2 separate regions of the Homo sapiens genome follow, and region 1 is linked to region 2. The links are contacts of gene promoters, found by promoter capture Hi-C in blood cells and fetal thymus (Javierre and others, 2016). All regions are on one chromosome and are shown on one strand. Each heading gives the region's core, a stretch centred on a gene start or on the middle of the fragment in contact. The rest is flanking DNA. Distances are from core to core; before and after follow the strand shown. Region 1 holds the start of MACIR (macrophage immunometabolism regulator). Region 2 holds the start of ST8SIA4 (ST8 alpha-N-acetyl-neuraminide alpha-2,8-sialyltransferase 4).

Evidence for each region. The method cuts DNA at HindIII sites, captures the fragments that hold promoters and counts their contacts. A CHiCAGO score of 5 or more calls a contact.
Region 1: a fragment that was not itself captured here is called in contact with the fragment with the promoter of ST8SIA4 in region 2 in 1 of 17 cell types (non-activated CD4 T cells); the score reaches 5.0 in non-activated CD4 T cells.

What each region holds. Positions count from the first base shown.
Region 1 is chr5:103,257,759-103,263,093 of GRCh38, forward strand. It overlaps MACIR (macrophage immunometabolism regulator), which reads left to right and starts at 1,005. Exons shown (of 3, transcript NM_033211.4): 1 at 1,005-1,138. RefSeq lists silencers at 666-1,175, 1,386-1,765. The HindIII fragment of the contact is 662 bases long and covers 1,967-2,628 here.
Region 2 is chr5:100,900,446-100,906,446 of GRCh38, forward strand. It overlaps ST8SIA4 (ST8 alpha-N-acetyl-neuraminide alpha-2,8-sialyltransferase 4), which reads right to left and starts at 2,837. Exons shown (of 5, transcript NM_005668.6): 1 at 2,398-2,837. The coding sequence starts at 2,510. LOC107986437 (a long non-coding RNA gene) reads left to right here and starts at 2,963. Exons shown (of 2, transcript XR_001742825.3): 1 at 2,963-5,224. RefSeq lists enhancers at 1-179, 286-787, 1,925-2,494, 2,980-3,219, 4,000-4,239. The HindIII fragment of the contact is 2,860 bases long and covers 2,384-5,243 here.

The DNA of each region.
Region 1 (5,335 bases), core at 1,048-3,547, 2.4 Mb after region 2:
TTATATTATCAGGAACATATGTAGATTCTGGAACAAGTGTGAATCAAGACTCGTTTAAACTTATATTAATCTACTCCAGATTTATGTCTTTTATGTTAAGATAAAGCATTTTGTCTTTTAAAAAATAAAACTCTCTTGATTGGACACTGGTACCGAAATTTATAACACTTATAAACAATTTTGGGGTTCACCGACTGCGTACACATTCAGCCTTAGCCACTCAGTAGGCATATGACCTAAACTTTCTGCATTTTTAAAATGTGGATCATAATTGGTTACTTCCTCACAGAATGGTTATTGAGAGATGTAAATTTGGATATGCATGCCAGTAAATATTCTTATTGCTGAGCTTAACCAGTTCGGCAGAAATGTACATGAATTGAGAGAAGCAAATCTTCATCAAAGAAAATAATTTATTACAATAATAGACAAGATCAACATTTGTGCAAATTAAAAAATAGTTAATCCAATCAGAATCTGAATTTGAACTCCCCCCCCCGCCCCACCCCGCCACCTTCACTGGGTATTACGAGTTTTCGTAGACTGATCCTATAATTTTTAATTTCATGGCCTTCTAGTTTTCTGTACTTTTGCTTAGTGCTGAGCCCTTTAAGCAGAGACTCACAAGTGACAAATATCAGCACACCACTTAACTGAGGAAGCCGGAGTGTTCCCAGGTCCGCAAGTTGGAGCTCTTTAGTTGGAGTGCTGGGTTTAGACTAGAGAGCGGGTGTTGCGACTCCTCCTCCCCACCACCAGTCAACAACCCCGCCCACCCCCGCCAACTTCTTCTGGCCTCTTAGCGCCTTTCTGCAGCCAGCCGGCCCGCCCTTCCTCCGGGTGTCTGAGAGCTGGGCGCAGGAGGCGGGCTCAGCGCTGACGGGCTGCGCCTCTGCAGCCAGAGGGAGGAGGCGGGAAGGCGGGCGGAGGAGGAGGCGGAGGAGGAGGCGGAGGAGGGGGCGGGGACTAAGCAGGGCGGTAGCTGGCGCCGAGCGCGGTGGGAGAGGAGAGGGTACCCGGCTGGCTCGGCTGGCGGCCTCTGCCTGGATCTCGGCGCCGCAGTCCTGCGCCTCTCCCGCCCCTGTCTCCCGCTCCGCAGCCCCGGGCACGGCGGAGGCAGCGGAGCCCTGGGCCATCGGTAGGTTGCACGGGGACGACGGCTCCGTCTGTAACCTTTTGTGCTGCAGAAAAGGTGGTGGTTATGGGGGGCTTGGGGGAGTGGGTTTGCCCCAGGCTCCGATCCCCAGTGCCAGCCCTAATCGCGGCGCCGCCCCTTCCTCTCCGCCTCGTGTCTGGGCCGGGCGCACGATGCCCGCGGTGCTGGGGAAACCCGGCCGGACCAGCTTCTGCGATGGGCGGCGGGGCGGCCCCAGCGTCCCTTGGCCTTGGTGGACCGGTTCCCAGGCACCCGAAGGGGACTGGGGTCTGGTAAACTGGGTGGGGCCCGCGCGGGGTGCGGGGAGCTTGCGGTTCCCTGGCACAGGGGTGGGGCCGCAGACGCCGTGAGTGTGCAGCGCGTGTGAGTGTGCGGGGGCGTGCGCCCCCGTGTGCGCGCGTCGTGCGCTCGCTGGGGAGGTGCGGGGACTCGGCGACCCGGAGCGCCTCTCCCGCGGTGCCGCGGTGCGGAAGTCGGGGCGCGTTGGCGCGCACGCTCGCTCGCTCCCTCCCTTGGCCGCTGTTCCCGCACCGCGGGGCAGCGGGCCTGGAGGCCCCTTTGAGAAGTAGCTTTCCCCGGCCGGCGGCACCTTTGGCTGCGTGCCCGGCCGCGCTCAGGGTGCGACTGCCCGGGTCAGATAGCACCTCAGGGCGAGCCCCGGCGGTCTGATCTCGCCGACCCTCCTCGTCCTGGTTGCAACCCGCGTGCGAGGCCGCCCGCGCCCTCCGAGTGTCTGCCGGTGCAGTGGGGGTGGACTGGCCGGCTGTGGCCGTGTGTGCGCGTGTGGATTGGGGCCCGGTCCGAGCCAGAAGCTTAAGCGGCAGATGTCGGGCATTGCCACCCTCGCCCCACCTGTCGCGGGTGGACTTTGGGGCAGGTGGGAAGCGGAGGAGAGGGGTTTCGAGGCGGGTGGCAGTCAGACCTCCAGCAACGCGGCCCCATTGTGAAGCTGCCAAACTCTCTCTAGTGGTGGAATCTGCAGGTCTCCGCCAGAAAGGAGATGGGAACGCGAAGGGAATGATGGCCCCGTCCTTTTCCCCTTGCTAGTGTTCCACACGCTTAGGGACTCCCTGCCTCTCCTTCCACCTCAGTTTTCAACCCAGTGGGTTACTGATTTGGGTGGAACCAAGATTTCCGTGTGTGTGTGTGTGTGTGTGTGTGTTTGTGTGTGTGTGGTGCACAGGTAAAGCTGGAGCTGGGAACTTTTTATTTGAGCAGGAAGAATGGAGGCATTTTACAGTGTGCTTGCCGCTCCTAGCTGAAAGAACAATTCTTGCATATTTCTGATGTTACTAGACTCATTTTCCTTTTTTTTTTTTTTCCGAAGAGCCAACCTACAATTTAGGGTTGTTAGTTGTTTTATTTTCTCAAATCCTGTAATGCTGGATTGACACTATAGAGGTAGAAATGACCCTTTTGCAAAGTTTATTTTCCCAGTCATTTCAAAATATAGTATTGGTTATTACGGCAGAAGCTTTTGGCCGCGATTTATGATTACACTATTAAGTTTAATGAATGTGTCACAGAATCCTCAGTGTTTTAATTATGTAACTGTGAATGCATTATAAACTGAAAAGTAAAATGAACAGGATGGAATATAAGAGTTAATGAATACAGAGACCTGTTAATTTGATAATAATTGATGTATAGAATATGCTTTTGCTAACAGTTTATTTAATTGCAAATGAAAGTGTTAGTAATTATTTCAGTGTATAAGATATATTTATTGATATTATATAACAGTCAATGAATTTGCTTATTTTCTTTGTATATTTCTGTGTATTTTAGAGAGCTATTATAAAATTAACTCAAAAGTACTTAATATGGTTAGAGTAATAAAGCTTTATGTACAGGGTTTAAAATTTCTTTGCTGATTTGTAGCTGGGGGTGAGGTGGGGGATCAGCTCCTTTCCTCCAGAGAGAACTTTGATTTTGTCACCAGCCTATCAAAATGAGTACCTGGTTTTAAGCCTTCCCAAAGATTAGCCAATTCCACAGTGTACACCTGTTCCATTTTGATGATACTTCCTAAGAGACAAATTTCTTGTAAAGGCTGCATGTTGACCTTTAGTTCCACTTACTGTCGGTCATATTTGCAGTGAAACTGAGTATTTTTCTAAAAGTAGAAGGATGACACCACGTGATAAGAAGATATTAGTAACCTAGGTTTAATTTTTACTAGCAGAAATGGAAAGATAATGAGTGCTGCACTTTAAGGGGGTGGATTGCTATTAAAAGAACTGATACTAGAAAGAGAAACACATTTTTGTCTTACTGAACGAATTATGGGTTATCTTACAAAGTTGGCAAGGTTAATGGTTTGTTTGTAAGGTCAAGGATGGTTTCAGAAAAGTCACACCCTAGTTAACTCTTCTTAAAGAGTATTGATGACTTACTTTTTGCAAGTTGCAAATGGTAAAGTAAGAATATTTGAAAGAAGCCTCTAAGATGAGCATCTAGGTGCAGCTAAACATTTTGTTTTCATTGTTGTGTTGTACTTTGACAGTTAAGCCATTTTATTTCTGCTTAGTGTTCAGTTAGTATTCCTCCAGAGATGTTTTGGTTCATCTTTTACTTGTTTTTAGTGGTCTTTGAGATTAGTGGTTACAAAATATTTTCACTATTTTGAAAGAATTTTTAAAAATTGATGTTTTTTTTCCAAGTGCTTTTCCATTAGTGGTCTCTTCTTAAATAGCCACTCTGAAAATACTACCTGTTTTTCTTTTTCTTTCTTTCTTTCTTTCTTTCTTTCTTTCTTTCTTTCTTTCTTTCTTTCTTTCTTTCTTTCTTCCTTTCTTTCTTTCTTTCTTTCTTTTCTTTCTTGAAAATGTTTTGGTGGGCTTCAGGTTAGGGCCATGAAAAAAATGAAAATAAATGTTTTGATAGCTAGAATTAGAACTCACAGCTTCTACTGTACCAATTTCTCTGCCTAAAATTTGTCCTTTCATAATATAAACTTTAATGATGAATGTGATTTTTATTTACCAATATTTGAAAGGGCTATGTGCTGGTCCTCATATTTATAGTCTTATGATTTGTGATCAATGTTGTTAAATTTTTTCTTACTGCTGTTTTGTTAGTGATCTGTGCTGAAGCTTGAGATTCACGACTTTTTTGTGTGTTTACGAATTTTGTATGGACATAAACATTTCCAAATGGAGCTTTGTATATTTTTGGGAAAGGCACTCCCTTTTTTGGGTTCCTAGTGCCATTCAGGTTTACTGTTATTAGAAGGATTTATTTCCATGTCTGCCCTCCCCTCTGACCCAGTCTCAGGCCATCTCTTTATATGTGCACCAGTGCCTGCATAGTGTGGGGATATATAATAAGACTTAAGAAACATTGTTGAATGACTGAATAAGTGAATATCTAAGTGGGTACACCCGAAGAAAGAACTCAGACCTGTATGGGAATTCACCGTTCAAGCAGAAGGGTGTTTCCCTTTTTAAAAAAGTCATTGCCTTTCCATGTTGCTTTTGAGTAGGATAACAAATGAAACAGCCAAACTGAGACACTTTTGAGAGTTAAAGGGGGTTGCTTTCAATAATTATGCCAGGGTATTGACTATGAATTGAGATATATAGTCACTCTTCTTTTGAAAGGCATTCTTATTTACCTGTGATAATAACTATCACCTGAGAAATTCGATACATTTGGTAGTTAATGTTTGCAAACTTTTCTATTTGTAGAAGCTCCACTTGCAGTGAAATGTTGGGTGTCTTTTGCTTAGTCACCCATGACTTTCTTATCCAGAAGTCTGTGGGCAGCTCTTGGCCACTGCTTGGTTTTTTCCTATTTTTATTGCTTATGGGATAATGTCCCACTGCATTCTGTTTCAGCTTCTTATAACTGGAAGCATTTATTATATCTTGTAGCCTTTGCTCTATTTACTTCAGTCTTTGTTTTTATGCAGCATTTAGTCTATCTTCTAAGAATTTCACATGGATTCCTTTTCCTCTTGCTGACTGTTTTGGAGAGGAAATCTGTTGATATCTTTCCAAGCCTTCAGTGTTTAGAACATTGGCCAAAATCAGTTGCAAGCGTTAGAGAATTATAGATTTTTAAAGTATTCTAAAAATGTGTGTTATTTGAAAGGTACATGTTTTGGGAATTTTTATATTACAATCTTTTAATTGTTATAAGTGGGAGATGGGGGTAGAACCCTTACTGTAATTTTGT
Region 2 (6,001 bases), core at 1,587-4,086:
ACTCCTCCACCAGAAGCGCTGTTTGGGAGTTGAAACGAAATAATGAGCTCGGGTCACAAGCTTTTCCACGAACCTTTCATCCTGGAGAAAAAGGAAAGTGCTCAGGGAGCCTAGCTGCCCTCGCATTGTTCCTGGCAGCTCCAACTCCTTGCACAGTCTTGGTCTCTCAGGAGACCAAGGCAGTCAGGACGCTACAGGGCACGGGTGTAAGCGCGACGTTCGCGGCCAGCCCTCTGCCTTGCCCCACTGTAATTGCGGGTTTTGATTAAGAAGGAGGAGCCAGTTGCCGACTGAGCTTTGAAAGTGACTTTGGGTGGGGGGTGGGGGTGGGGTGGGGGTGGAAGGAGGGGAGGGACCAAAAGAGCCTGAGTCCTGCAATAAAGGTTTCCCCCTATCTTCTCACTCATTCTTTCCCCCTCGCCGCCGGCGCTCTGGCAGCAGGGGATAACCCCGGTGCGCGCCTCTCTTCCTGTTTGGTTTACTCAAGCGCCTGCCCCAACGCCTTCTCAGTCAAGCTGGGAGGAAACTGCTTCAGCTTGAAAAGGATGCGGGCAAAAGCCCAGCCCGACTAGCTCAACCGCCGCGCCAGTGCCCGCCTCCTCTTCCTTAACGCCTAGGGCTGCGCCCACCAGCCGGCAACGTCCAGGAAAGGGCCACAGGAGAAATGACACCCGTGCAATGCGGAGTGTCCCGGCTCCGCTTCCCCGCAGGGACTCGAGGTGCGCTCCTTTTCCTGGCCACGGTTTAGGGAGGCTCGGAGATGGACACCTCGGCAGTATCTGGCGACCCTCTTCTCACTCGCTCCGCCCACTCCTGCTCTCCAGGGTCCCAGCCAAGGGCCCGAACCCTCGGAGTCCTAGTGAGCCTTGGCCGCTTTGTCTGGGATCAGGCTTATCCTCCTAGCCCACGGCCCGGGAGGGAACAAAGAGCCTCGACCCTCAAGCTCTAGCCTCTGCCTCTCATCGGAGCCCCATGCGCCCATTCATCACCTTTCTAAAGACCCCTTTGTCTGCCTGGCAAGCACAGGTCTGCAAGGGATGCCCACGCCCCTGCCCAAAGTCCTGCTTTTCTAACAACTGAGCTAGATTGGATTTTCAAGCCACCCAGTCTTGTGTAAACGACCTCATACCGGTCTTTTTTACCCCCTCAGAATAGACCATGTATAGATTCGTTGATGCATGACGACCATTCCAGCCCATTCCTTGCTAGCTTTTTCATTCTCTTCCAGTCCGCTTTGACTGTGCTACTGTTTTCCTGGTTTTCTACAGAATAGCAAGTCCTTCTGTAAGGATCAACCTGCATCTTGCTCGCTTAAATAAATGCTTATTACCTAGGGAGCAGGAATATTAAGAAATGGAGTGCAGGAAGTTTAAGAGCATGTGTGTGTGTTAGCAGTCCCATCTCTCTCTCTCTCACACACACATACACACACACGCAAGGGCTGTTTTCTTTGTTTTAATCAATGTCAGAGAAAAATATAAACTGGGCAGGCATCTCTGCTGGTGTGTAGTTTCTGATAGAGGACGCCTCCAAACCGGAACAGGGAGGATTTCCGAAACAGGACTTTGAATAGAGTTGACAATCAGGTTCACATCCTCAGAAAAAGCCTTCCAAGCTATGTCAGCAACACAAAGTTGCACCACCTCCTGGGTAAACTTCAAAGACACAGAGGCCAGCGGGTGGAAGGAAGTGTGATATTTAGAGAACTTAGTGGGGCGGGGGAGAGTCTGAACTCATCTAGACAAACTAAAAAAAATAGCAGAAATATAGTCTGTGTGAAGCTACAGTACCCAGTTTCTTTCTAAAACTGTAACCATGACGCCCATGCGTTTTAGCCGTAGAAGAACAAATAAGGAAGTATCCTTAGTGGTACTGGAGTTTCTAATTCAAATTATAACACATTAATCTATCCAACGTCAAATAGAAAAAAAAAAAGTAGAGAAACAGAGTATACCTATTTCCTGCTTTCTAAGCTTTAACTTCAGCCCTTCGAGAAACCATCTATCTCCAGTATCTCCTTAGGTGATAGGACATTGAAAACAGGCAACCGTTTGGTGAATAAAGACATTTCTCTTGAGTTCTGCCCACAGATTAAAAGGACAAGGACACACGTTCTTTGTTGACACTTCTGCAGTGACTTCTCCTTTGGCGAGAGAGCACCCAGGGCCAACACAACTGTCACCACAACCACACAGAGCAAGTTGAACTCATACTGGGAACAGCTTAGAGAAGCACGCACATCTCAACAACAGCCTTTGTTATTTAATTCATGACACTAACCACGCGCAAGCTCAAACAAACACACATGCTATCCTAACCATCACTCTACCCTCTATATTCACATTTCATTTATGGCTTGACTTTTTGTCATATCCTGAAATGAAGCTTTGCATTTACCCGATGAGTTGCGTCTCCTGGTGCTCCTCAGTTCTTGCTATTTCTTTTGTCTTATAAAAGATCAGGAGCAGACTTATTGTGCAGATCGTCCACCTCTTCCTAATGGAGCGCATCTTGGGTGCCCGAGAAAGTCCTGGTTGCCCCAGCTCCCGCACCTTCTCTTGATATAAAGGCTCCGTTTTGGGGAGATAGTCGCGGGGGTGAAATCTGTAAAATGCGAGGAGAGCTTGGAGCCGGGATCCCGGGATCAGATCACTGGGGTCTTCTGTGGCCGAGCTCCCTCTGGTCCTCGAACGCTGCCCAGCGACCTCTCGCCCTGTTTGCGCCAGCTCTGCCAGGGTCGCTCCGCGCCGCCTCCCTGGGGCTCAGGTTTCTTTTCAGATGAGACACCTTGTGCATTGGAGGTGGCGGCAGCTTCTGCAGCTGGGTTCGGGGGCGTCACTGGCCCTTCCCTCTTGCTAGGAGATAAACGCTGCGCAAAGCCAATCACCAGGCTGAGGGGGCGGAGGCTGCTTGGAGAGTAACGTCCCCGGCTCTGCCTGCTCTGTGCCGGGAGAGGAAGCTCACAGTGCTACGCGCCTGCGAGCTCGCGCACATACACATATACATACATACACACATACATACATATGCACACACACGTACACGCAGAATCACACACACTCTCCTGGGACATCAAAGCATCAGCTCTCTGGACCTGGGAGCTCCAAGATAGTCTATCCGCATCTAGGTGAGAGGGCACCTCGCCTGGGGACAGATTACAAAAGCGTCCCGCCAGAGGAATGCTTCAGGTAGAGCTAGGGGTGGATTGCAAGAAGAGTACCTTCTTTCAATCGCTTTTGCTAAACACACACCCTCACACGCAAAAACACGCCCTCCAAGGTGGAGTGAAACGGGGTGCGGGGGTGGGGACGGCGGTGGAAGGAAGAAGACTTTTATTACTCAATCTGGAAAGTGCAAATACACACATGAACCTGTTAGCCGATGGGCCCACTCTGCATGGGTGGTGGACGACGACCCTGGCTCAGGATTCTGCAGGAAACAAGTGATGATAGAGGTGTCATTAGGAACTTTATGGATATTTATGCGCCTCCCTTTCATTGCCATTTGGAAACTCCTCACGCAGAAGTCAAGGAAACTCCAATCCCACTTAAACTTCATTGCGGAGAAACAGAGTTCTGAAAAAAAAGCAGCTACCATGGACCTCTCTTTTAAACGCAAGTACACCCACACACATTCGGATACCAAGGAAGGAAGGAAAGAAAGAAAGGAAAGAAAAGGGAGGGGAGGAAGGAAGAGCAAAGTCCTCTCTAAAAGTCTCAATTATATATATAGCCTCTGATTGTCACCTCTCCTCCGTCCCACCATTTTTCGTACTTGTATTGGGTGGCAGGGACACTTTTCAAGAGTTCTGTGTTCGATTGTTCACTCTGAGTACCTCTCCACCATCCTCCAGTCGTTGCCCTCATTGGGAGAGATGCTTGCTACTCTGCTAGTACCACGCCTTGGTTCCGGTCTTTACTGTTGGCTGGTAGGTCGGGAGGCACCTCTAGCATGAGACAGTGTCTGGAAGCCAGGATTTCCCTCATCTATATGCGCCGGTCCCCAGCTCCCTGGTCGCCAGGGTTTCTCTCCAGTTGAATTCCGTGTTCCTTCAGGTTGAACAGTAGCTTCAGCGGTTTTTCACGCTCAGAAATGATGAGGCCCAATTCCAATCTTCCCTCCCGCCGGAAGTAAGAAGGGGAATTCTGAGTTGCTTGTCGCCTGACAGCTTAAAATAGCAACGAAAACAGCCAGCATCTTTGCTTAAAAACCCAAGGTTCCCGCCAGTGTTTACCATACTTCCTCTAGAGTTTAAGAAGTTAAGAACTTCCGAGATCTTGAATTTCCTCTTTGCAGCACAGCGAACGGGGTCGGGTATAAAAATGCTCCAAGGAGCAAGTAATTACGAACGTTTATTGACACTACAAGTGGCCCACAGGGAGCCTTTCGAGTTTATTGATGTCTAGGCAAATCCAGCCTGCATTAATGCATTTCTGTTAGATTGACTTCTGTTAGACTCACTTTTCTTCTGGCAAAAACTGCCAGAATAAAACAGCTTCTTATTTAAGTTAAAAGGGATCCGGGGCTGAGGGCAGGGGTCGGGTGGGAGAGGGATGCATGGTTAGGATGCTAAATTCTCAAGGATAAACTTTGATTTTTAAACAGTAGACAACTATATTTTAGATTATAGGTAAAACATCACTCTCTGTCAGGGATAGAGTAATATGCATCGTTTCATTAAACTCATTATTTCTTAAGCAATGGTTATGGGGCAGGCAATGTGTGCGGAGATGGGAACACAAAGATGAATAAAACTTAGCATCTAGTCAGACACAAATCCTACTCACTCAAAGGGGGCATCTTTTAAAAATAATAATTTACAGTATGGCAACATGAATCAGAAACATCATTTAAAATATATATGGTATCTGAGTAAGCTCCTGGGTTGAAGCAGATGGGGTGTTTAAGCCTTTTGAAGCCCGGAAGATGAGTTTCCGGGTGAAGGGGACACACAGACTCCTGTTTTCAAAGCTGACAAGGAAGTAAGCCAAGCAGAGGGAGGATAGAACATTGCAGGTGGAAAAAGGAGTATGCGCAACTCCAGAGAGTAATAAAACTCTGGTGCTTTGGGGCAACTTTGAAGTGGCTCAGTACTGTTAGAAGGGAAAGTGGTAAGGGAGAGTGCTGGTCCAAAAGTTTCGGTGTACTCATAATATTCTATGGCTCCAGAGTGTGGAACAGTCTTCTGTAATGAGAAAGCCACAAGAAAATCTTCAAGAGGAAAGTGAGTATAATCTATATTAAGCTTTAAATTACATTAGGGGAAACTACTTACCTAGCCCAAACAGGAAAAAACAAACAAACAAACAAAAAAAGAAAAGAAAAAAAAAAAAAAAAAGAGCGAAACGAAAGCAATCAAGAACTAGTTATAGGAACACATAAGACAAATTTAAATGTCCAGAAGAAAAATAAGTGAACTCTCCAATTGTATAATGCTGCTGTTTCTGAATTTTTTAAGTACAGAACTTTTTATATTAAGGCGAGCAATTCTGAATGACTGATAACTGTTCAGCGAGACTCCAGGAATTCTTCTTCCCAAATTAAAGCAATTTAGTGTTTGGAGTGTAATTGAATGCCATTTGTTTAATATTGTTAGATTCGTTAAATATATAGCCATTATAATTTGCCAATTAAAAAGAAGCCATACAGGCCAATACTTAGACAAAAGTGAGGACAGCATGGTTTTTTCTCAATATGTAAATAGGTGCAAGAACTATAAATATTGGATAAAAAGTCTTTTGGAATTAACTTCTATTAGAATGCTTAGTTTGATGTTCCTGAGCACCAAAAGACTATAAAGAAGTCTTTTGGAATTAACTTCTTCTATTAGAATGCTTAGTTTGATGCTCCTGAGCAAATAAGATTGTTTCTAAATTTTCATTTGATCTTTGGATTGTAAGTTCTTCAATAAAGAGAATATATTTGTCTTTATTCAGCACAATTCTACAATTATACAATAGCCTATAAATAAATAATGTGAGTAATGGCAGCTGGTTTTAAA